4 separate regions of the Homo sapiens genome follow, and all the other regions are linked to region 2. Evidence: promoter capture Hi-C in 16 types of primary human blood cells and fetal thymus (Javierre and others, 2016). All regions are on one chromosome and are shown on one strand. Each heading gives the region's core, a stretch centred on a gene start or on the middle of the fragment in contact. The rest is flanking DNA. Distances are from core to core; before and after follow the strand shown. Region 1 overlaps TOB1 (transducer of ERBB2, 1). Region 2 holds the start of CACNA1G (calcium voltage-gated channel subunit alpha1 G). Region 3 overlaps SPAG9 (sperm associated antigen 9). Region 4 has its middle 14 kb from the start of WFIKKN2.

Region 1 (4,817 bases), core at 934-3,433, 300 kb before region 2:
CGGCGCCCCGACCTGCTCGGTGCTGGGTGCCCAGCCGGGAGAGGTTGCTCTTCCATTTCCCGGGCCTTCCTCCTCCTTCTCCGAGGAGGCTCGTACTCTCTTCCTCCTCCACCTCCACCTCCTCTTGCTGTTGCTGCTGCTGTAGCGCTTGGGCTCCGAGGGCTGTGAGCAGAAATCTAATGAGATCTAACTGGCTGTTTATGTAATTCTTCACACTCCTGCCTGTCTTAAGGCGTTGCTTTGTAACTACCTTCCACCGAGCCTGAATTTCGCTCGGCTGCACCTTCAAGCAATTGGGCTTAATCAGCTGCCTCTGCCGGCACTCAGGCTTTTGACTTGGAAAGTGTTTGTAGTTTGGGGGCAGCCAGAGATTCTTTTTCCCTTTGTCACCACGAATATGGAAAATAGAACAGACGAATTAAGACCAACTTGATTTTTAAACGTACTTTTAAATCAACTTCAGTGTGCAAATAGATCCCTTTCGCAAATATCTTCTGTTTGCCCTTGATCTTTTCTTATCCCCACCCAGTGCTGATCCAGCAAACGTTTAAAGGTCGACCTTACCATACTTGCCTCTCCGGCTGTTACCGTGAGAGGGAGGGAGGGAGAGAGGGACAGACGGAGGTTTTTTAAAATCAGACTAAAACTCAGAAACCCTGGCCTTAAACAGAATAATCAATAGTTTTAATTTGTGTCTTTGCTTTTGTTATACTTGCTGCCGAATAGGTATTTTCAGATTTAGAAAAATACACATTGAAAACAAAAGGCCCAGAGAAGCTGGATTTTATTATATTGTATGCTCTTAGTATACTTAAGGCCGAAACTATATAGAATAATTTGGTTCATAATTATTTACTAGGATGAAGTTCATTTAGTACTCAGTGTCTTTAATTTTAGCATCATGTACTATGGAAATTAAAATGATCTTCCTAACGTAACCAAATTTTTAAATGTCAGTGACAGAGCAGATTTAAACAGTATATATCCAAAGTAAACTAAAACATGGATTCACTTCTAAGTTGGTGAATAACAATAAAAATTACTACCTAAAAGTGGCATCTATATATATGGGGGTGGGGGGAGGATGCTGAGTACAATAAATATTCTTGTGAGAACTGAGGAGAGAAGAATGCATGTTCTAGAGATTTTTCTTCTTAGAACTCTATTCAGAAACAGGTTTTTAAAAGCATTATTTCATTTGTAAATCTACATTTTCCTGTGTCATTTTAAACTTTAATAAACGATTTTCTATTTTATGTTTATTTTGTGCTAGTAACAGTTTTCAGGCTTTCTGTCCTAGTAGACATTTTCTTTTTCTTTTTATCCTTAGCAGACTAACACAGGATCTTAGACATTTTGAAAGGTGAAATTACTTTGGAGGGGGGAAGGTCATGGGACTTATATTACATTTATCTTATTTGGATATGTTTGCTTTTGTTTTAAGGAACAAGATCACTCAAGGTGAAGGATAATCTACTAATACCAGCACTTTGAATGAAAATTTGTTTCTCTGCCACAAACTGAACATCTTTTTTTTTTTTTTTTTTTTTTGGTGGGGGAGTTGAAACCTAATTTTGTGGCGTAGCAGCTATGCAGCTTGAAATCCAAGTAGCACTAAATTTTATTATTTCGTATTTGTACAATAAGCTTCCCAGGAGACGTGTCAACATTTTTGGTGAAGAACTTGAAAGACTTCTTAAGAAGAAATATGAAGGGCACTGGTATCCTGAAAAGCCATACAAAGGATCGGGGTTTAGATGTATACACATAGGGGAGAAAGTGGACCCAGTGATTGAACAAGCATCCAAAGAGAGTGGTTTGGACATTGATGATGTTCGTGGCAATCTGCCACAGGATCTTAGTGTTTGGATCGACCCATTTGAGGTTTCTTACCAAATTGGTGAAAAGGGACCAGTGAAGGTGCTTTACGTGGATGATAATAATGAAAATGGATGTGAGTTGGATAAGGAGATCAAAAACAGCTTTAACCCAGAGGCCCAGGTTTTTATGCCCATAAGTGACCCAGCCTCATCAGTGTCCAGCTCTCCATCGCCTCCTTTTGGTCACTCTGCTGCTGTAAGCCCTACCTTCATGCCCCGGTCCACTCAGCCTTTAACCTTTACCACTGCCACTTTTGCTGCCACCAAGTTCGGCTCTACCAAAATGAAGAATAGTGGCCGTAGCAACAAGGTTGCACGTACTTCTCCCATCAACCTCGGCTTGAATGTGAATGACCTCTTGAAGCAGAAAGCCATCTCTTCCTCAATGCACTCTCTGTATGGGCTTGGCTTGGGTAGCCAGCAGCAGCCACAGCAACAGCAGCAGCCAGCCCAGCCGCCACCGCCACCACCACCACCACAGCAGCAACAACAGCAGAAAACCTCTGCTCTTTCTCCTAATGCCAAGGAATTTATTTTTCCTAATATGCAGGGTCAAGGTAGTAGTACCAATGGAATGTTCCCAGGTGACAGCCCCCTTAACCTCAGTCCTCTCCAGTACAGTAATGCCTTTGATGTGTTTGCAGCCTATGGAGGCCTCAATGAGAAATCTTTTGTAGATGGCTTGAATTTTAGCTTAAATAACATGCAGTATTCTAACCAGCAATTCCAGCCTGTTATGGCTAACTAAAAAAAAGAAAATGTATCGTACAAGTTAAAATGCACGGGCCCAAGGGGGATTTTTTTTTTCACCTCCTTGAGAATTTTTTTTTTTAAGCTTATAGTAAGGATACATTCAAGCTTGGTTAAAAAAATAATAATAAAACATGCATCATTTTTCATTTGCCAACCAAGCACAAAGTTATTTTATACTGACTGTATATTTTAAAGTATACTCTCAGATATGGCCTCTTACAGTATTTAAGATATAGCAAGGACATGGCTGATTTTTTTTTATAAAAATTGGCACTAATAAGTGGGTTTATTGGTCTTTTCTAATTGTATAATTTAATTTAGTACAAAGTTTGTAAAATATCAGAGGATATATATATATTGTTTCTACGACATGGTATTGCATTTATATCTTTTTACTACAGTGATCTGTGACAGCAGCAGCTTCATGTTGTATTTTTTTTACTGAAATTGTAAAATATCCATCTTAAAGACATCAACTATTCTAAAAATTGTGTACAGGATATTCCTTTAGTGGTGGAATTAAAATGTACGAATACTTGCTTTTTCAAAAAAATGTATTTTCTGTTAAAAGTTTAAAGATTTTTGCTATATATTATGGAAGAAAAATGTAATCGTAAATATTAATTTTGTACCTATATTGTGCAATACTTGAAAAAAACGGTATAAAAGTATTTTGAGTCAGTGTCTTACATGTTAAGAGGGACTGAAATAGTTTATATTAAGTTTGTATTAAAATTCTTTAAAATTAAAAATGCCTATTGTCTTTGTTTTTAAGTGTTTTCTGAAGATCGACCTCTGGAGTTATTATGTTGTAAATGCTAATGATGGAAAAAGGCCTGACTCATTGAGTCACGAAGGAATAATGGAAAGCAGTTGCTCTACTGATGTACCAGATCGTGGTTTGCCACATAAAAAATGCTATCAAAACTATAGCCTGACCAGTGCTTGGTACAACTTTATTTTTTAACAGCCCTCTTCAGTCCACATTTGTCTACCCCATTATAGAGATGGTATGGTAAGGTTAGCTATACAGCAAGTTTCAAAATGTCATGCTGACATGGAGGAGTCAGGTGATAAGATGAAATTCCTTCGTGTAATCTGAGATGATTTATTTGAAATTTATATGGAGAGAGCATTGGATCAGTTTTCTGTTTTTGCTGAGGAAACTTGCTTGGACAAAACGGCTGACTGAACTTAGAAAAATTTACATCACTTTACTAATCTTTAAAGTTTAGCTATTGCATATAGCTAGAGAACTTATGGTCAAAATCTATTCACGGCTGGACAGATGGTTAGATGTTAGCATTTTCATTTTCCCAGCAAAAACGCTTATGTATTTAATTTTTTGCAAGTGGGTACCCAACCTGCTGGTTTGAAGGATTTAGAGATATTGACAATGTATCAAATTGGAGTGGCTTGGTGAGGATGGAGTTTTTTAAAACTGAAGAGTTGGGGAGAAGAACACTAAATGAGTCATTTCACTAAATGTCAATTGATACAGTATTGACATAGTATTGGTGAGAAAGTTAACGTCCATTTGATACAGTGTTGACATAGTATTGGTGAGAAAGCTGTCTTAAAAAACTTTATATGTACTTTTATAGTAAGAAACCAGCACTGCCTGGGTTACCAGTGAAATAAATTTGGTCTCATGAGCTTTTTGGACACCAGTCTACAAAAGCCTTTTGTCATTTACCCATGCAGTGTAGAGCAATACAAAGTTTTAAGGAAACAAGCACTGGAAATAACAGAGCTAAGCTGTTTGTCAGCTCCATGGTGAGGCTTTTGTTCTTTAGGGAACAGAACGAGGCTATGAAGAAGTATTGGAATAATGGGTGCAAGCAGCAGAGATCTGGTCTGCCAACACTTACCACTTACATGCTTTTGTGATCACGAAGTTTGAATAGCTGTAAGAACCATCAGGATAATGGCTTTAAGCACTAGTTTCTGCTACAGACTGATAAAGTTACATTTGGGAGAAAACTCTACTTATAAATGAAGGCTCAAGTGTAATGTGCTTTTTCTGAAAATCATAAGGCAGCTGGACGGAACATAATAGAATTTTTTTTTTTTTTGAGACGGAGTCTCTTGCTCTGTCACCCAGGCTGGAGTGCAGTGGCACCATCTCGGCTCACTGCAACCTTCCACCTCCCAGGTTCAAGTGATTCTCCTGCCTCAACTTCC
Region 2 (4,917 bases), core at 1-2,500:
GCCTGGATCCCCACCCCCCCAACCCAGGAAGACTGAGGTGTGTGTACGCAGGTGGGGTAAGCCCGGGTTACCGACGAGACCTGCTCGCGTCTCCGCTCCCACTCTGGTGCCCCCTCCCCTCCCTGGCAGCCCCCCCCCCATCCGCCTACCCTCCGGGCTCACTTCGACTCACCTGGCGGTGGGTCTTCTTCCCCCCCGACCCCCGGCGGTGCGGCCCGTCCCCCTTCTGACCCCGCGCCTGGCCGTCGTGCCCCGAAGGATATGGGTTACAGACCGTGCGGAGACACCAGCTCCGCGGGCGGCTGTCCTGGCTCAAGTAGAAGAAAACCACCGGGGCCAGCGCCGGGTACGGCAGCCCCTCCGCCTCGGAGTCCGCGCTGCCCGGGTCCTTTTCTGCTGACCCCGGCCCCGGCCGGCCCCCGGCCCCCGACAGGTCGTTGAGCCGCATGAAGCTCCGGGGCTGTCCCGACTCCTCGGCGCCCGCTCCATCCTCCTCCTCGTCCATCCTCTGGCCAGCCGGGGCCCCGGGCGATCCGGAGAGGGGCAAGCGGCGCCCCTCAGAGGAGGTGTCCTCACGCAACCCGGGGGCCCCGGCGGGGGCACATCTGGTGGGCTCTAGGGCGCAAGCTGAGCCCCCGGGAGGGCCAGTTCAGCCCAGCTCCCCCTGCCCGCAGGGGCATGCTGCCCGCGGGGCGCCGGGGCGCAGGGAAACCCCGCCCGGCGCGAGTCCCGCTTCCCCTGCGCCCCTGGGGCTTCCCGGGCCAGCCGGCCGGCTCCCCCTCACTTTGTTCCGGCTTCTTCGCTTCGCGCCCAGGCTCCGGTTGCCGGATTCGGCGCTACCTTCGGCGAAGCCGCCCCGAGAGGGCGAACGAAAAGGGGGGCAGCGGCGGAGGGCGGGGGTCCGGGGAGGGGCGCCCCCTCTTCCCGCGGCGCAGCTGGAGCCGGATCTAAGGGGTCAGCATCGTCCCGGCTCCGCGCCAGGCGGCGGGGGAGGGGAGGAGGGATCTCTTTAGGGGTGGGCTTGGAGGGGGTGGGGGCGGCTCCTTCCCCCGCCCCGCCGCGGGCTCACTGTCCGGGAGGGGCGGGGAGACAGTGGGGGGCAGTCCCGGGCGGGAGTGGAGGCGGAGATGCCGCCGCCGCAGCCGCCGCGGTGGCTGCCGCTGCCGTAGCTGTCGCCGGCGCCACAGCCTCCTCCTCCGGCCGAGACGCGGAGCGAGCGAGCGAAAGCGGCGGCGAGGAGCCCCGCGCACACCACAGCTGGATCCCTCACTTCAACTTCAAGCCTCGGCCCCGCCCCCAGACAGCCCCGCAGCCAATCGCCGGACGCCGCCGGCCCCGAGCCGCGCGCCCATTGGCCGTCCGCCGTGGCAGTGCGGGCGGGAGCGCAGGGAGAGAACCACAGCTGGAATCCGATTCCCACCCCAAAACCCAGGACCGCCCCTCTCCCCTCCCCTTGCCCCTGGGTCCGCTCCCGAAGGCTGGAGCCAATCAGACTGCTGCCCAGACCGAACCCACTTTCCTATTGGCCATTGGGGTCTTTGGGACTCCCTTGGAGGGAGCCCGAAGAATCAGAGTATTCGGCGCGGGGTCCTGGCGTAGGGCCGCAGGCCCCAGGCATCCTTTGTCCACGACCCCTGATTTGGGCAGCAGCCGGAGGACGGAGCTCAGCTCTGGGCGGGCCTGGGGAAGAAAGGAGACAGGCGGCACGGGGGTGAGGGTTGTCACCAGGGGGTCCCAGAGCGAAATCCCAGGTCTCCACCTGGTTAATCTCCCACCCTGGAGTTGAGCTTGGCTGCGGGACTGGGGGAGGGAAGGAGCGGAGCTGGATGTCCTGGGGGTGGGGCTTCAGGCTGGAGGGGCCCAGTCTTGGAGAAACGGGCGGAGCTCGAGAAAGGCTAGGGTAGGCATGGTCTGGGCGTGGCCTCCACAAATCTCTTGGGCTTATTGGTCATACTCCCGAGTCAATTCTGAGACTTCGACCCTGACCTCGTAACCCTAACCCGCTGGACCTGACCTCACATTGACGCTCCTGGGCTTCATCCCTTTGCCCCTAGGGACCTTTTGAAGGGCGTGGACTCCACGCAGGGGCTTCGTGCTTGAACACGTGGCCCCAGGCAGGTCGCGCTGGACCGCAGAGCCCGGATCCCCAGGAGGGGCTGCGGAGCAGAGCGAGGACCCCTAAGAAGGAACCTGTGGGGGTCTCGAGTGTGTGGGAGGGGGCGGAAGCACAGAGCTGGGCTTTATCGACTCGACCTTCAAAGTCCCCACCACCGCCACCCCCCAACTTCGTGCCTCAGTTTCTCTTAAGTCCCTATGTGGCTTAGGGAAAGAGTGTCCGCGGAACTGGAACTTCGCGGGTCTGCCGCCTTCACTCACTCACCTTAACCCTACCGGCAGCGGGCCCTCGTGGGTTTGTGCTTTCCACGCGTGCACACGCACGCGCAGACCCCGGCCCTTGCCCCGCCTACCTCCCCGAGTTCTGGGGCTCAGTCGGCTCTAGCTCTCTCCTGCCGCCGGCGCCACTCCAGAAAGCTGTGGGTACCCGGGAGCGGAGCGCCGCGGGTGTGCTGGGCGCCGGTGGAGGGGGGAACAGCGAGGATTAGACGCCGGGAAGCACTTCCCCAACATCTGCGAGAGGTAGACACGGCGGAACCTAGTGGGTCAGTCAGTTCCCTCTCCGGAGATTTTGGGGCGCTTGCGCCACTGCGGAGAGGCGGCGGGATGGGTCGGATGACCTCCATCACCACCCCTCACTTTGCTGAGGCCATCACCCCTGGGCGTTGTTCACTCTCCTAAGGCTGCACCACCCACGCAGCCCCCGCGCACCTCCCGCCACCGCAGAGGGTTGGGGTCGTCTCAGTTCCCGCCCCGGCCGATGGGGGGAGGGGATGGGGGAAGTGGCAGAGTGGCTGCTGCGCCGTCGTCTCCCTGGTTGCCCTTTCGCCGAATCCATGCACAGAGTTGTGTAAATGAGGCCGGGCGGGCTCATTTGCATTTCATGCTAATGAGCAGATCCCCTAAGTGCCTTTTTTTCCTGGCGGGAGTCTCTGCTCTCATTCTGAGTATGCGGCGCCTGAGTCTTGAACCCCGTGCCGTCTTCTGGGAAAGGGGGGCTATTTATGGTTGCTCCGCGCGTCTGACACCTTCTTCCCTCCCGAGAGGCCGCAGTCTGCCGGGTCGGCCTGCCCTTCCCGCCAGGATAGAGGCCCCGGGGCTGGCGCGAGAAGTAGGGACGCCCAACACCCCTTCTTTGCAGAGGGGAAAATGAGGACAGAGAGGCTGGCCCAGCCCAATGATCAGGTCCCCTGGTGGTCAGCAGGCCCCACACCCTCATCCATCATCCCGGCCACCCCTGGGCTCTGGACTGAACTCTGTTCTAGAACATGCCCGAAAGGAGGGCAGGCACAAACGCACCATCTAGATAAATTGAGATCCACATGCACTTCCCTGGGTTCAGGACCTAGGGGAGACCGGCCACGCAAGACAGGATCTGATCCCTGTACTCGGCATGTTGGGGCTGATGGCCAGTCGGAGATGCTTACCCTTAGCCTGAGTGCCAGAGAGGAGGCAGAGGCAGAACCTACAGGGAAGGCAAAGAAGACCTGAAACCATCTTTATTTAACTCCAGCCCTCCAAGCCTCAGCTCTGACATCACCTCCTCAGAGTGGCCTTCTTTCCAGCAAGTATTTCAATGCCACTTAAGTGCCAAGGTGCTTAGGATACAGCACCGAGCCAGACACAAGTCTGGAACTTCACAGCACTTAGCCCAGGCTGGGATTATATGTTTGTGTTTGCAGTAATGAAATGATCATCTCCCTATCTAGGCTCTGTGTTCCCAGAGGGGCTATGTTCATTTTGCTCACTAGGGCCTTGTCTAGTGTCGGGCACAAAGTTGTTAGGTGAATGAATGACCTCAGGCAGGGAAAGGGAAACAAAGGGACAAGAAATTCCTTTCTTTGGGCCTCAGTTTCTCAACAAAGACACTAAGCCTAACTAAGAGTTTTTCTGGGTTTGAGGAAGAACCCCCCCCATATATACCCTGCTCAGCCAGCCCCTCCAGCCCCCTCCAGCCCTGCCTTTACCCCTCCCTCACAGCCCATCTGGCTCCCTGCGGAGCTAAGATAATCTTCCCATCTGTGATACCCTTTGCTCAGGGATGATACAACCATTATCCCATTTAGTCACCTTAACAGCCCTGAGAGCTGGGTGGATGGCCCCCCACCTTTCAGATAAGGAAGGGGGGTGCTCAGAATGATGAAGTTACTTAAGTGACTGCCCAGACGGTATGGCCCTGTCTCCAGTGACCCTGGCCCGCAGGTGTTCCGCTGGTAGAACAGGGTGCACACTCAAGAGGGACCAGCAAAGGGGAAGGGATGCTGCAGGAACTCTTATAATCCTGCTTCTGAGTGAGATTTATGTGGGACCCTGCCCCCTTTAGAAATTCGAGCACTCCTGGGAGAACTAACCCTTTAAGGAGGTAACTCCTTCTTCCCAACCCATTTACAGAATCCCATCATCGCGTGCACATCTCATCCCAGGAGGGAGAGAGGAGCTGCCGAGTAGAAAGCAGACTGGCTGCAGGGACAGAAGACACCAAGGGCACCCTCCCCCACAGCTGCGCCTGGACCTCCTGCGAGAAGAGGAAGCCTTAGGGGTCTTTATTGTACCCTCAAGACCCCAGAGAGAAACAGAAGTGCTGAGGGGTCGCAGGCAGGTCTCTTACCCTCTCTGGGCCTCGAATATTTATCCATAGGAGGCTGAAGGTAACTGCCTTCGCAACTCATTCATGAGGGTCAATGGGACGACAGTGGCAAGAGGGGTTGGCACACTGCCCAGACTGTTCCAAAGCCAGGGCTGGGGCTGCCAAAAAGGCCACCTGTGCTTCACCATGCTCCATCCTCCCTCTCTTCCACCTCC
Region 3 (5,268 bases), core at 496-2,995, 410 kb before region 2:
TAAAAAATAAGCTTACTTATTGCTAGACTGGCAAAATCCCCTACTCCATTTACTGAGGTACTTAAAAATAACTAGCATGCTGTATCTCTTTTTTTCCCAGCTTTGTCTTGAATTGGCATTGCCATCCTTGTTTTATCTCAACTGGCTGTAGCTTTTAGATAATATCATAAGGATTAACCAGTAACCTCTTACATTCATTACTGTTTTCTAGGGGAAAATATTTGGTATTTGGTTTTTCTGTTGCAGCAAATAAAACCTCAGGTGTACCAGGAAATCGTCCTGGAAGTGTAATCCGTGTATATGGTGATGAAAACAGTGATAAAGTGACTCCAGGGACATTTATACCCTATTGTTCAATGGCACATGCACAGCTTTGCTTCCATGGGCACCGGGATGCTGTGAAATTCTTTGTGGCAGTCCCAGGTATGTTAGATTATTCTGTTGAGATGTTCCATGTAATTGTCTCTCTTCTGTCATCTCTTGGTTCCACTACCTAATAGTCTAAGGCTAAGTACTCGAATTGCAGGTAATTTCAATATATACGAAGGAAGTTCTGTAATGGAGGTGTGACTAAGGTGCTATAGGGATACTTGAATGAAGTTACTTTGGAATATCTCTCCCACCCCCAAAGATAAATTTGTTGATTTTTCTTTAGGAGACTTGCTTACTTTTGAAAAGCAGTAGTATTATTTTATCATCGTGGATTGCCAAAAATGGTCTTGACCTAATAAGAGAAATCACTAGAAAGAAGCTTCTATCATCAAGGCTGCATGGAGGAAGAGAGAATGCACTCTGGTACCTTTAGCAGCTTAATAGGAAAAAGCAGTGAACTAGGAGGCCTGGGGGTCTGGCCCCTGTGTCTCTGCCACTAACCTCGAGCAAGGCACTTAACCTCAGAGACTCATTTCCTCACTCCTAGGTGGATGTGATTAATATCTGCTCTGCCTACTTCATTTGTTATGAAAATTAATGAAAATGCTACTGGGAGCTATAAAGCACCACCCAGAAAAAAGATGGAAGTGATGATGTCCAGTGAAAAATGACAAATTATCCATTGACAATACTTAAGTGATGTCACTGACCATCTGTAAGCAGGACACAGGTTTTGAATTTTTTTTTCCCATAAGAGGCAAGTTTAGGAGCTAGACGAAGTTCAGATCTGACTTTCCCCCACCAACTAACTGTGTGATGTAGTATATTAGTCAGGGTTCTTCAGAGAAACAGAACCAATAGGATGCATGTGTATGTGCGTATGAAGAGAGAGTTACTGTTAAGAAATTGGGTCACACAGTTGTGGGGACTAGCAGGTCTGAAATCTGCAGGGCAGGCTGGCAGGCTGGAGACCCCGGGAAGAGTGGATGTTGCAGTCCAAATCTGAAAGCAGTCTGGAGGCAACATTTCTCTTTCCTCTGGATCCCTCAGTCTTTTTCTTCTAAGGCTTTCAACTGGTTAAATGAGGCCCACCCACACTGTGGCGTGTAATCTGCTTTACTCAAAGTCTGTTGTTTTAAATGTTAATCACATCTAAAAAAGACTTACAATGATATCTAGACTGGTGTTTGACCAAATATCTGGGTATCGAGCTAACACGTCAAATTACTCATCATACTTATTTTCCCAAGGGTCTTCCAAAGATTAAATGATTTTATGTACATGGGGCAAGGGCTGGCATATGGTACCCTAAGCAATTATTCAGTTATTCTTAACAACAGTGATAATGAGCTTTCTGAAACCTCATTTGTACATTTTATATATTTGTATAGTCATTTCCTTCCTAGAAATGGGATTGCTGGTAACAGTGTTTCTCTTGCTTAAAAAAAAATGAAATATCACAGTTTCCTTTAAATCTCCTTTGTATCCCTCTCCAATCCCATTCTCCTCTCCTTTTCCTCTCCATTGGTAACCACTATCTTGAAGTCGATGCAAATCCTCTTGCCCCTGTTTTTGTATTTTTACTATGTTTGAATGTGTTTATAAACAATGTATGATTGTTTTGTGGTTTTGGACTTTACATGTTAAATGTTGTGTTTTATATGTATGCTTCTACAACTTGCTTCTCATTTTTTGAGATTTATCAATGTTCATACATAAAAATCTAGTTTATTCATTTAACTGGTATTATAACTGAATAAAAGTGCTACATTTTATTCATTCTTCTGTTGATGGACCTCTAGGCTTCTCCCCTTTCTTTTTTCACTATTAAAAACAATACTGAAGCAGACCTTCTTGTGTGCATGTGTAAGGATTTTTTGTTGGGTATAAATCTAAAAGTGGAATTAGCAACATGGTTGTTGCGAGGCCAGTTGGCCCTAAAGATTAAACCATTCTGGTTGGCCTTATCAGTAATACCACTGTGCTCTTGCTTCTGTGGCAGAACTAACTCGTCTACCAACAGAAGTCATTGCTGGCATGCTTGATTTCTTCCAAAGTATAATTGAGTAATGCATGAATGAATCCCTGTGGGGATACGTCAGACTATCCTATCCACTTTCAACATACATTAATTTTGTTACAGTGTGTCGCATTAATGGCTGTCCAGCTAGCTCCTGGAGGCGCAGTCTGTGTAGTTTGACCAAAGGACAGCAGATTCTGACAAGGAAAAAAATATCCCACAATTAAATCTTGCTAAGAGGGTTGGCTTAGAGATTGCTCATTTGTTCATAGTTGTGAATAATATTTAAAGGTTTCTCTCTTTCTATTATTTCACACTCAAGGATTCTACCTTAGAACTTAAGCTTTAGAACAAACAGCACATTTACTAGTAATTTTGTTTGCATAATCTAAATTAAAAATAACCTGTATTTTCCTTAAATATGAGAGGAAAGCCATAGATTTGAAATAAATTTAAATGTTAATTATGACTATGCAAACTCATAGGGCTTAAGTTGAAGACTTTTCTCAGTCTCTTACACAAATAAGCACATTCCTTTTCAAGGGAGAGACCTTTTCCACTGTCTTCTCAGATCAAAAGATTTAGACTATAATAGTTTGAAGCAGGTAGGCTGTGCATGGTGGCTCACACCTGTAATTCCACAACTTGGAAATCAAGGCAGGAGGATCACTTGAGCCCAGGAGTTTGAGACCAGCCTGGGCAAACATAGCAAGACTTCATTAAAAATTTTTAAGAGACCAGGCACAGTGTCTCATGCCTGTAATCCCAGCACTTTGGGAGGCCTAGGTGGGTGGATCACTTGAGGTCAGGAGTTTGAGACCAGCCTGACCAACTTGGTGAAACCCCATCTCTACTAAAATACAAAAATTAGCCGGGCGTTGTGGCAGGCACCTGTAATCGCAACTACTTGGGAGGCTGAGGCAAGAGAATTGTTTGAACCCCAGAGGCGAAGGTTGCAGTGAGCCGAGATCGCGCCATTGCACTCTAACCTGGGCCACAAGAGCGAAACTCTGTCTCAAAAATAAATAAATAAAGTAATTTGGGCCAGGTGCAGTGGCTCATGCCTGTATTCCCAGCACTTTGGGAGGCCGAGGCAGGCAGATCATGAGGTCAGGAGATTGAGACCATCCTGGCTAACACGGTGAAACCCTGTCTCTACTGAAAAAGTTAGCCGGGCATGGTGGCACGTGCCTGTAGTCCCAGCCACTCAGGAGGCTGAGGCAGGTAAATCGCTTGAACCCGGGAGGCGGAGGTTGCAGTGAGCCAAGATTGTGCCACTGCACTCCAGCCTGGGCGACAGAGCAAGACTCCATCTCAAAAAAAAAAAAAAAAAAAAAAAAAAGGTAGTTTGAAGCAGGCAGCTAAGACCCACCTTGCCATGCATATATCTCATATTGGATTTGGGGCCTATTCCTGCTTTGTTACAAAATTGCTTTACTTAGATTTTCAAATTGGGTTTTGTTTGTTTGTTTGTTTGTTTGTTTGTTTGTTTTTTAGAAGCAAGGTCTTGCTCTGTTGCCTAGGCTGGAGTACAGTGGCGCATCACAGCTCACTGCAACACTGAACTCCTGGGCTCAAGTGATCTTTCTGCCTCAACCTCCCAAGAAGCCAGGATTACAGGCGCATACCACCATTCCCGGCTAACTTTTTTGGTAGAGATGAGGCCTTACTATATTTGCCAGGCTGGTCCCAATCTCCTGGCCTCAAGTGATTCTCCCACTTCGGCCTCTCGAAGGTGTGAGCCACCATGCCTGACCTCAAATCGGGTTCTTAAAACCTTCATGTAAATGTTTTCTGATCATGCAGAGCCTTCTAGCTTCCCCAGTATTTGGTTATTAGAATATATTTACCTTTTTGTTTAACTCTAAAAATACTTAAAAAAAAAAAACAAAACAGCCTCCCTTCTGTGATAAGTAATATTCACTTTTGTTTCTGTATAAAACAGGTCAAGTCATCAGCCCACAAAGTAGCAGTAGTGGCACGGATCTGACGGGTGACAAAGCAGGGCCATCTGCACAGGAGCCTGGTAGTCAGACGCCCTTGAAGTCTATGCTTGTCATCAGTGGAGGAGAGGGCTACATCGACTTCCGAATGGGTATGTCATTGGTTCTGGGTGCTCAGTTTGCACTGTGTGCTATGACTTGGGTTTTGTCCCAAAGTAAATAAGAAACCACTCTGATAATGATTTATAAGAGGTTCTCTTTGAGCTCTTTACACACGAAAGGATTTTGTGGGTTTTTGTTTTTTGTTTTTTTCTTTTTGGTATTTCTTTCTTTTTTTTTTTTTTTTGAGATGACGTCTCACTCTGTCACCCAGGCTGGAGTGCAGTGGCATGATCTCAGCTCACTGCAATCTCTGCCTCCAGGTTCAAGTGATTCTCCTGCTTCAGCCCCCCAGGTAGCTAGAATTACAGACATGCACCACCACATCTGGCTAGTTTCTGTATTTTCAGTAGAGACAAGGTTTCACCATGTTGGCCAGGCTATTCTCAAACTCCTGACCTCAAGTGATCCGCCTGCCTCGGCCTTCCAGCTGGGATTACAAGCCCGAGCCACCGCACCCGGCCCTTGGTATTTCTTTTCATACCAAAATGTATTTGTTTGAAAGGAGCATTAGAAATAGCAGGATGTGGTCAATGTGAAGTTTTATGTGAAAAGCATAGGATTTAGGGTCAGAAGGCCTTGGACAAGTCATTCAACCTCTTAGAGCCTCGGTTTTCTGTCAAAATGGAGAAATAAAAATATTTCTTAAACAACTTCATTTGTTCATTTTCTCACCTAACAAACATTAATTGAGCACCTACTGTGTACCTGTCATTCTTAAACTGGAGATACAGAAACAAATCAGACAAAGCCTTCGTCTAATAGATTATAGAA
Region 4 (4,961 bases), core at 2,004-4,503, 260 kb before region 2:
CACTTCCTGGGTTCAAGCAATTCTCCTGCCTCAGCCTCCTGAGTAGCTGGGACTACAGGCGCGCACCACCATACCCGACTAATTTTTGTATTTTTAATAGAGATGGGGTTTCACCATGTTGGCCAGGATGGTCTTGATCTCCTGATCTTGTGATCCACCCGCCTCGGCCTCCCAAAGTGCTGGGATTACAGGCGTAAGCCACCACACCCAGCCACCTCAGGGTCTTTGTAATGTGTCCTTTCTGCCCAAAGAGCTCTTCCCATGATGGTGTTTTCTATTCATTCAAAGACTTCCCTCACTTCCTTGTCCATTGTTACACACACACTCACGCCTAGATTTTTGCCACCCTCTCCCCAAGTCACATGACACTCCACCCTGTTTTATTTTCTTAAAAGCATTCACCATTACATCCATTGAGTTTCTTTTGGCTGCAAAAACAGTAATGGAACACCCACCCAAGGTATCTCACATGTCAAGGGGTCCAAGAATGGGCAGTACCACGGCTGGTTCAGCAGCTCAACAACACTAGGGCTTCAGGTCAGCCTTCCTGGAATTCTCTTGACCTTCTCCTCATGGTCACAAGATGGCTGCCATCACTGGAAGTGCTCACATGACAACATTCAAAGGCAGGAAGAGAAGATGTGGCAGAGGCCATTTGTGCACTCCAACCATCCCATGTGCTCCCTACATTTCCCAGCCTTCCTTGCAGTTAGGTTGAAGCCATGTAACTAGTTCTGGCCCATAAACTGTGAGTGGAAGCAATGTTGGTGGTTGGAAGCCCTTAGTAGGAGTTTGAGGTCTTCATGAGTTGCCCGATTCATGCTCCCATGCTGGTATTTGGTGATGCCTCCAAACTATTTACTCTCCACATGAACACCAGTTTTAAGGGTTATAAGATGTATGAGATAAAGATGGTGATAGGGGAAAGCCATTGCTTTGCCTAGGAATAGGTCAGACCACAAGGCATGCACTCAAGTTAGAATTCCGAGCCTTAAAGTAAGCAATTATGGATAAGCCCTGGGAGTGTTCCTATGGGAAGATCTTCCAAATGCAGCCTGAGGCTCTCATCTCTGGTTCAACTGTGCCAAATGAGGCATCCTGGTGGATTAAAGATGGCCACAAATTCTTTGCCGCTCCCTCAGTAGAGAGATGGGCTTTCCTTCAACCTGGCTGGTCCTATTGACTTTGGCCAACAGAATGTAACAGAAGTATAACTTCCAAGTCAAGCTTTAAAGATCATGACTTCCACATTTGCCCCTCTTTGAAGGTTTCCTTTAGAAGCCAGCACTGTGTAAGAAGTCCAGCTACCCTAAGACCACCATGTCATGAGGAAGTCCCAGCTAGCCACGTAGACAGAAATACTTAGTGGATCCATGAAGGGGCACCAAGATACCAGACAAGTGAATGCATTTTCTTGGACCTTCCAGCCTAGCCCAGCTACCAGCTATGTAGTTAAATGAATGATTCCTATAAGGTAGTTGAATGAATGATCCCTAATATTTTTGCCATTAAAAGTAATGGCAAAAACCACAATTACTTTTGCACCAACCTAACATCACATAGAGCAGAAGAACAGCCCAGCTGAACTCTGCCCAAACTTCGGATCCATAGGATCATGAGCAAATAAAATGTTTTATACACTAACTTTTGGGATAGTTTGTTACAGAGCAATATACAGGCTGGATGCAGTGGCTCACGCCTGCAATCCCAACACTTTGAGAGGTCAAGGCAGGAGGATCACTTGAGCCCAGAGTTTGAGACCAGCCTGGGCAACATAGCGAAACCCTTGTCTCTACAAAAAAAAATAATAAATAAAAATAAAAATAAAATTCTTTTAAATTTATTTAAAAACAAAAAATAAAATGTAGAGCAATATACAAATGGAATAGACATGAGGGAACTGTGGTGGAAACCAGTTTCAGCTGCTCAGCTTCACTGCTCATGACGAATCAGGAGGCAGAGACAAGAATCCTGCCAGAATTCTCTTTAGGATATAAGATAGAACATCTGGGGCTCTTCTCAAAGCCTGTGCCCTTAGCAATGCTCATGACAGGGGTCTTGAGTGTGGGCTTAGAGGAAAGCACCATCAGTAGCCTCTAAGCAAACAGACCATGATTATGATCCAGACCATAATGTTGGCTGGAGTAGACTTCAAATATGTGGCCAGCTCAGATTCTAGGGGAACAGCATTAGAGGGTAAAAGCCCTATTTCCCATTAAAAGCAAGGTCAGGTAAGGGCTTCTAGAAGAAGTGACATCAATACTGAGACCTGAAGGATAAATCATAGTTAGCTGGACAAAGAGGGGACAGTATATGCAAAGGCTGTGAGATGGGAGGTGGCACAGAGCATTGGAGGAACTGGAAGACAGCCAGGGTGGCTGGAGAGGAGGGAGTCCACACAAGTCCAAGTGGGACTCAGAGGGTAGAATCTCTCACCCATGCCTACACCACCACCAGGAAGGAGGCTTTGATTTTTGCCTTCTATTTCAGAAAGGCTTGCTTTGCACTTTGAACTCTGTTTTGGGTTGATCTTGGGAGTGGCGATTTGAGGGAAACAACAAAACAGTATGTAGCTAAGTGAAGAGGTAGACCACAGAAAATATATATTAGTCACTGCTCTAGCTTGCAGCAAGCAGACTGAAAGTCTCACAGGAGGCTGGGCGTGGTGGCTCACGCCTGTAATCCCAGCATTTTGGGAGGCCAAGGTGGGCGGATCATGAGGTCAGGAGTTTGAGACCAGCCTGGCAATATGGTGAAACCCTGTCTCTACTAATATACAAAAATTAGCCAGGTGTGGTGGCGAGCACCTGTAGTCCCAGCTACTCAGGAGGCTGAGGCAGGAGAATCGCTTGAACTTGGGAGGCAGGAGTTGCAGTGAGCCGAGATCGCGCCACTGCACTCCAGCCTGGGCGACAGAGTGAGACTCCGTCTCAAAAAAAAAAAAAAAAAAAGTCTCACGGGAAAGGTTCCTTTGTCCCCCTCAGATGGTGTGCGATGGGGGTATGGCTCGCTTCTTCAGTGCCCTGCTGCTCAAACTTCTAGGGGAACATACAGATGGGCAGGCTGTGGGGCTCTGACCCCACGGCAGTGTCAAGGGGTGAATGTTTACAGCTGAAGCTCCAGTGAGCGTGTGTTACAGGGTGCTCTTTCAGTTTTGCCATCTGTAGGCAGCTTGGGTTAGTCAGCTCAATTAGACCCACTACTTTGTCACTAGGACAGAGGGTTTTCTGTATCCCAGGGTTTCTTGCCTTGGTGTACCAGAAGAATCAGATCACACGTGGGCTTGGAGAATGAGTGCAAGGTTTTATTGAGTGGAAGTAGCTCTCAGCAGATGGGGGAGCCAGAAGGGAGATGGTTTTCCTCTGGAGTTGGGCCGCTTGGTGTCCCAGGCTCTCCTCCAACTGCCCCAGCCAAACTCTGCGTCCTTCTGCTGGTCAGTGGCCTGCTGGCATGCCGATGCCGGTGCCAGTGCGTTCCTCTTGACATCCAGCCGCCTGTGTGTCCCACCGCCAATATACTCCTCTAGATGTCCAGCCGCTTCTGTCTCTGCCCTGCTAGGGTCTCGGGTTTTTATAGGCACAGGATGGGGGTGTGGCAGGACAGGGTGGTCTTGGGAAATGCAACATTTGGGTGCAAAAGCAGGAGTGCCTGTCCTAACCTAGGTCCACGAGGGTGGAGCCCTCGCCAGGGAGCACAACCTTCCTCTACCCAACATTTCCCTTGCGCTGTTCCGTATCATTTAAAGGGACCACGCTCTTCCCTTCCCAGCGTTTCCATATCAAAAGCAGAAGAACCCATGACTGTCCGCATTTGGGCCAAGTGAGCATGAAATAGTTGAGGGATAGAAAGCTACTGCACATTTCATGGTGGAATGATTGGGGGCACTGCTGGGTACAGAGGATGGGCAGAAAATGGGCCAGGCTCATTCATCGGGAGCCACCAGGAGGACTTTCTGCCAGTGAGGAGCCGGGGGGAAGGCGCTTCTCTCCCTAAGTCCAGCAGTCAGACACCATGGTAGATGGCAGGAGAGGTGCTTCCCAAAGTTTGGAGAGGCTCTGTTCCTAACTCTGAGTCAGCAGAAGGAAAACAGGAGGGAATTGGAGGATAAAGAGGGGGCCCATGCAAGGGAGCCAGCCCCTTTGTGCCTGCAGGGCACAGGGCAGGTACAACCTGCCCACTGTGGCCTCAGGTACATGAGGATCAGAAAGGCAAAGACCCCACCACTGAGGGTAGAAGGTGTTAGGGTGCTGGAGTGAGGGCTCAATGCCCGAGTATCCCCTTCCCTCTGGGGTTTCTCAGGGAGGGAGTCATCTTGGTGCCTGAGCCCTGCCCCCAATGCAGAGACCCTTAGTATAGTAGACCCTGATGAACCCTGGGGCTTAGGCTTAGGCCAGGCTTCAACCTTCCAGCTTCCTTCCCCAAGGGTCCTGCCACAGGTGGAGAAGATGGGCCAGAAAGAAAGGGTGGCCAGCCCCTACACTCCCCCAGCTAACTCATCACTGGGACAGTGCCTCCAGGTCTGGCTGCCACGAGGGAGACGTGAAAGAAAGAGAGGACGTAGAGAGAGGCCTCTATCAAGGCCACGTGCCTCTGAAAATCCAGTCACCGCATTCATGAGTAAATTCTGAGTGATGGATGTTCTTGACCCCCACCAAGTAAAATGAGCCACCCTGCCCCCACCACACCCTCTCCACCTTCCACCCTGTTACAACTGAGGAGGTGTCCCTCCTATTTAAGGTCAATGCTGCCAACAATGTGTTGGATCCCAACACTTCCCTTTCTTTCCACCTCCTTAGGAACTTTATACCATCAATTACGCCTTCTGTCTCCCAAATACCTGCCACCTTTATACACATTCATGTCTCTCTTATCCTCAACAGATCATTACATCATTCCTTCCACCCCGTATTCCCCCTCCATGAACAGCCCTGCCTCTTTCTACCTTCCAAGTCAGTCCGCAT

Evidence for each region. Contacts are between HindIII fragments. The CHiCAGO score rates a contact against its expected background, and 5 or more counts as called.
Region 1: a fragment that was not itself captured here is called in contact with the fragment with the promoter of CACNA1G in region 2 in 1 of 17 cell types (total CD4 T cells); the score reaches 5.3 in total CD4 T cells.
Region 3: a fragment that was not itself captured here is called in contact with the fragment with the promoter of CACNA1G in region 2 in 4 of 17 cell types (naive B cells, total B cells, naive CD8 T cells and 1 more); the score reaches 7.9 in naive B cells.
Region 4: a fragment that was not itself captured here is called in contact with the fragment with the promoter of CACNA1G in region 2 in 6 of 17 cell types (M1 macrophages, M0 macrophages, non-activated CD4 T cells and 3 more); the score reaches 7.5 in M1 macrophages.

Annotation. Positions count from the first base shown.
Region 1 is chr17:50,860,791-50,865,607 of GRCh38, reverse strand. It overlaps TOB1 (transducer of ERBB2, 1), which reads left to right. Exons shown (of 2, transcript NM_005749.4): 2 at 1,445-3,385. The coding sequence starts at 1,591. The coding sequence ends at 2,628. Among named protein-coding and RNA genes, the nearest start is that of TOB1, 3.2 kb to the left of the region's middle. RefSeq lists a silencer at 1-48 and an enhancer at 589-638. The HindIII fragment of the contact is 1,068 bases long and covers 1,650-2,717 here.
Region 2 is chr17:50,557,048-50,561,964 of GRCh38, reverse strand. CACNA1G (calcium voltage-gated channel subunit alpha1 G) reads right to left here and starts at 1,250. Exons shown (of 38, transcript NM_018896.5): 1 at 264-1,250. The coding sequence starts at 505. It overlaps CACNA1G-AS1 (CACNA1G antisense RNA 1), which reads left to right. Exons shown (of 2, transcript NR_038439.1): 1 at 1-37; 2 at 4,507-4,917. RefSeq lists enhancers at 1-291, 1,651-1,700 and a silencer at 1,051-1,430. The HindIII fragment of the contact is 9,044 bases long and covers 1-4,917 here.
Region 3 is chr17:50,969,926-50,975,193 of GRCh38, reverse strand. SPAG9 (sperm associated antigen 9) reads left to right here. Exons shown (of 30, transcript NM_001130528.3): 28 at 247-423; 29 at 4,338-4,487. Among named protein-coding and RNA genes, the nearest start is that of TOB1-AS1, 110 kb to the right of the region's middle. The HindIII fragment of the contact is 1,984 bases long and covers 754-2,737 here.
Region 4 is chr17:50,819,368-50,824,328 of GRCh38, reverse strand. No RefSeq gene overlaps it. Among named protein-coding and RNA genes, the nearest start is that of WFIKKN2, 14 kb to the left of the region's middle. The HindIII fragment of the contact is 4,047 bases long and covers 1,230-4,961 here.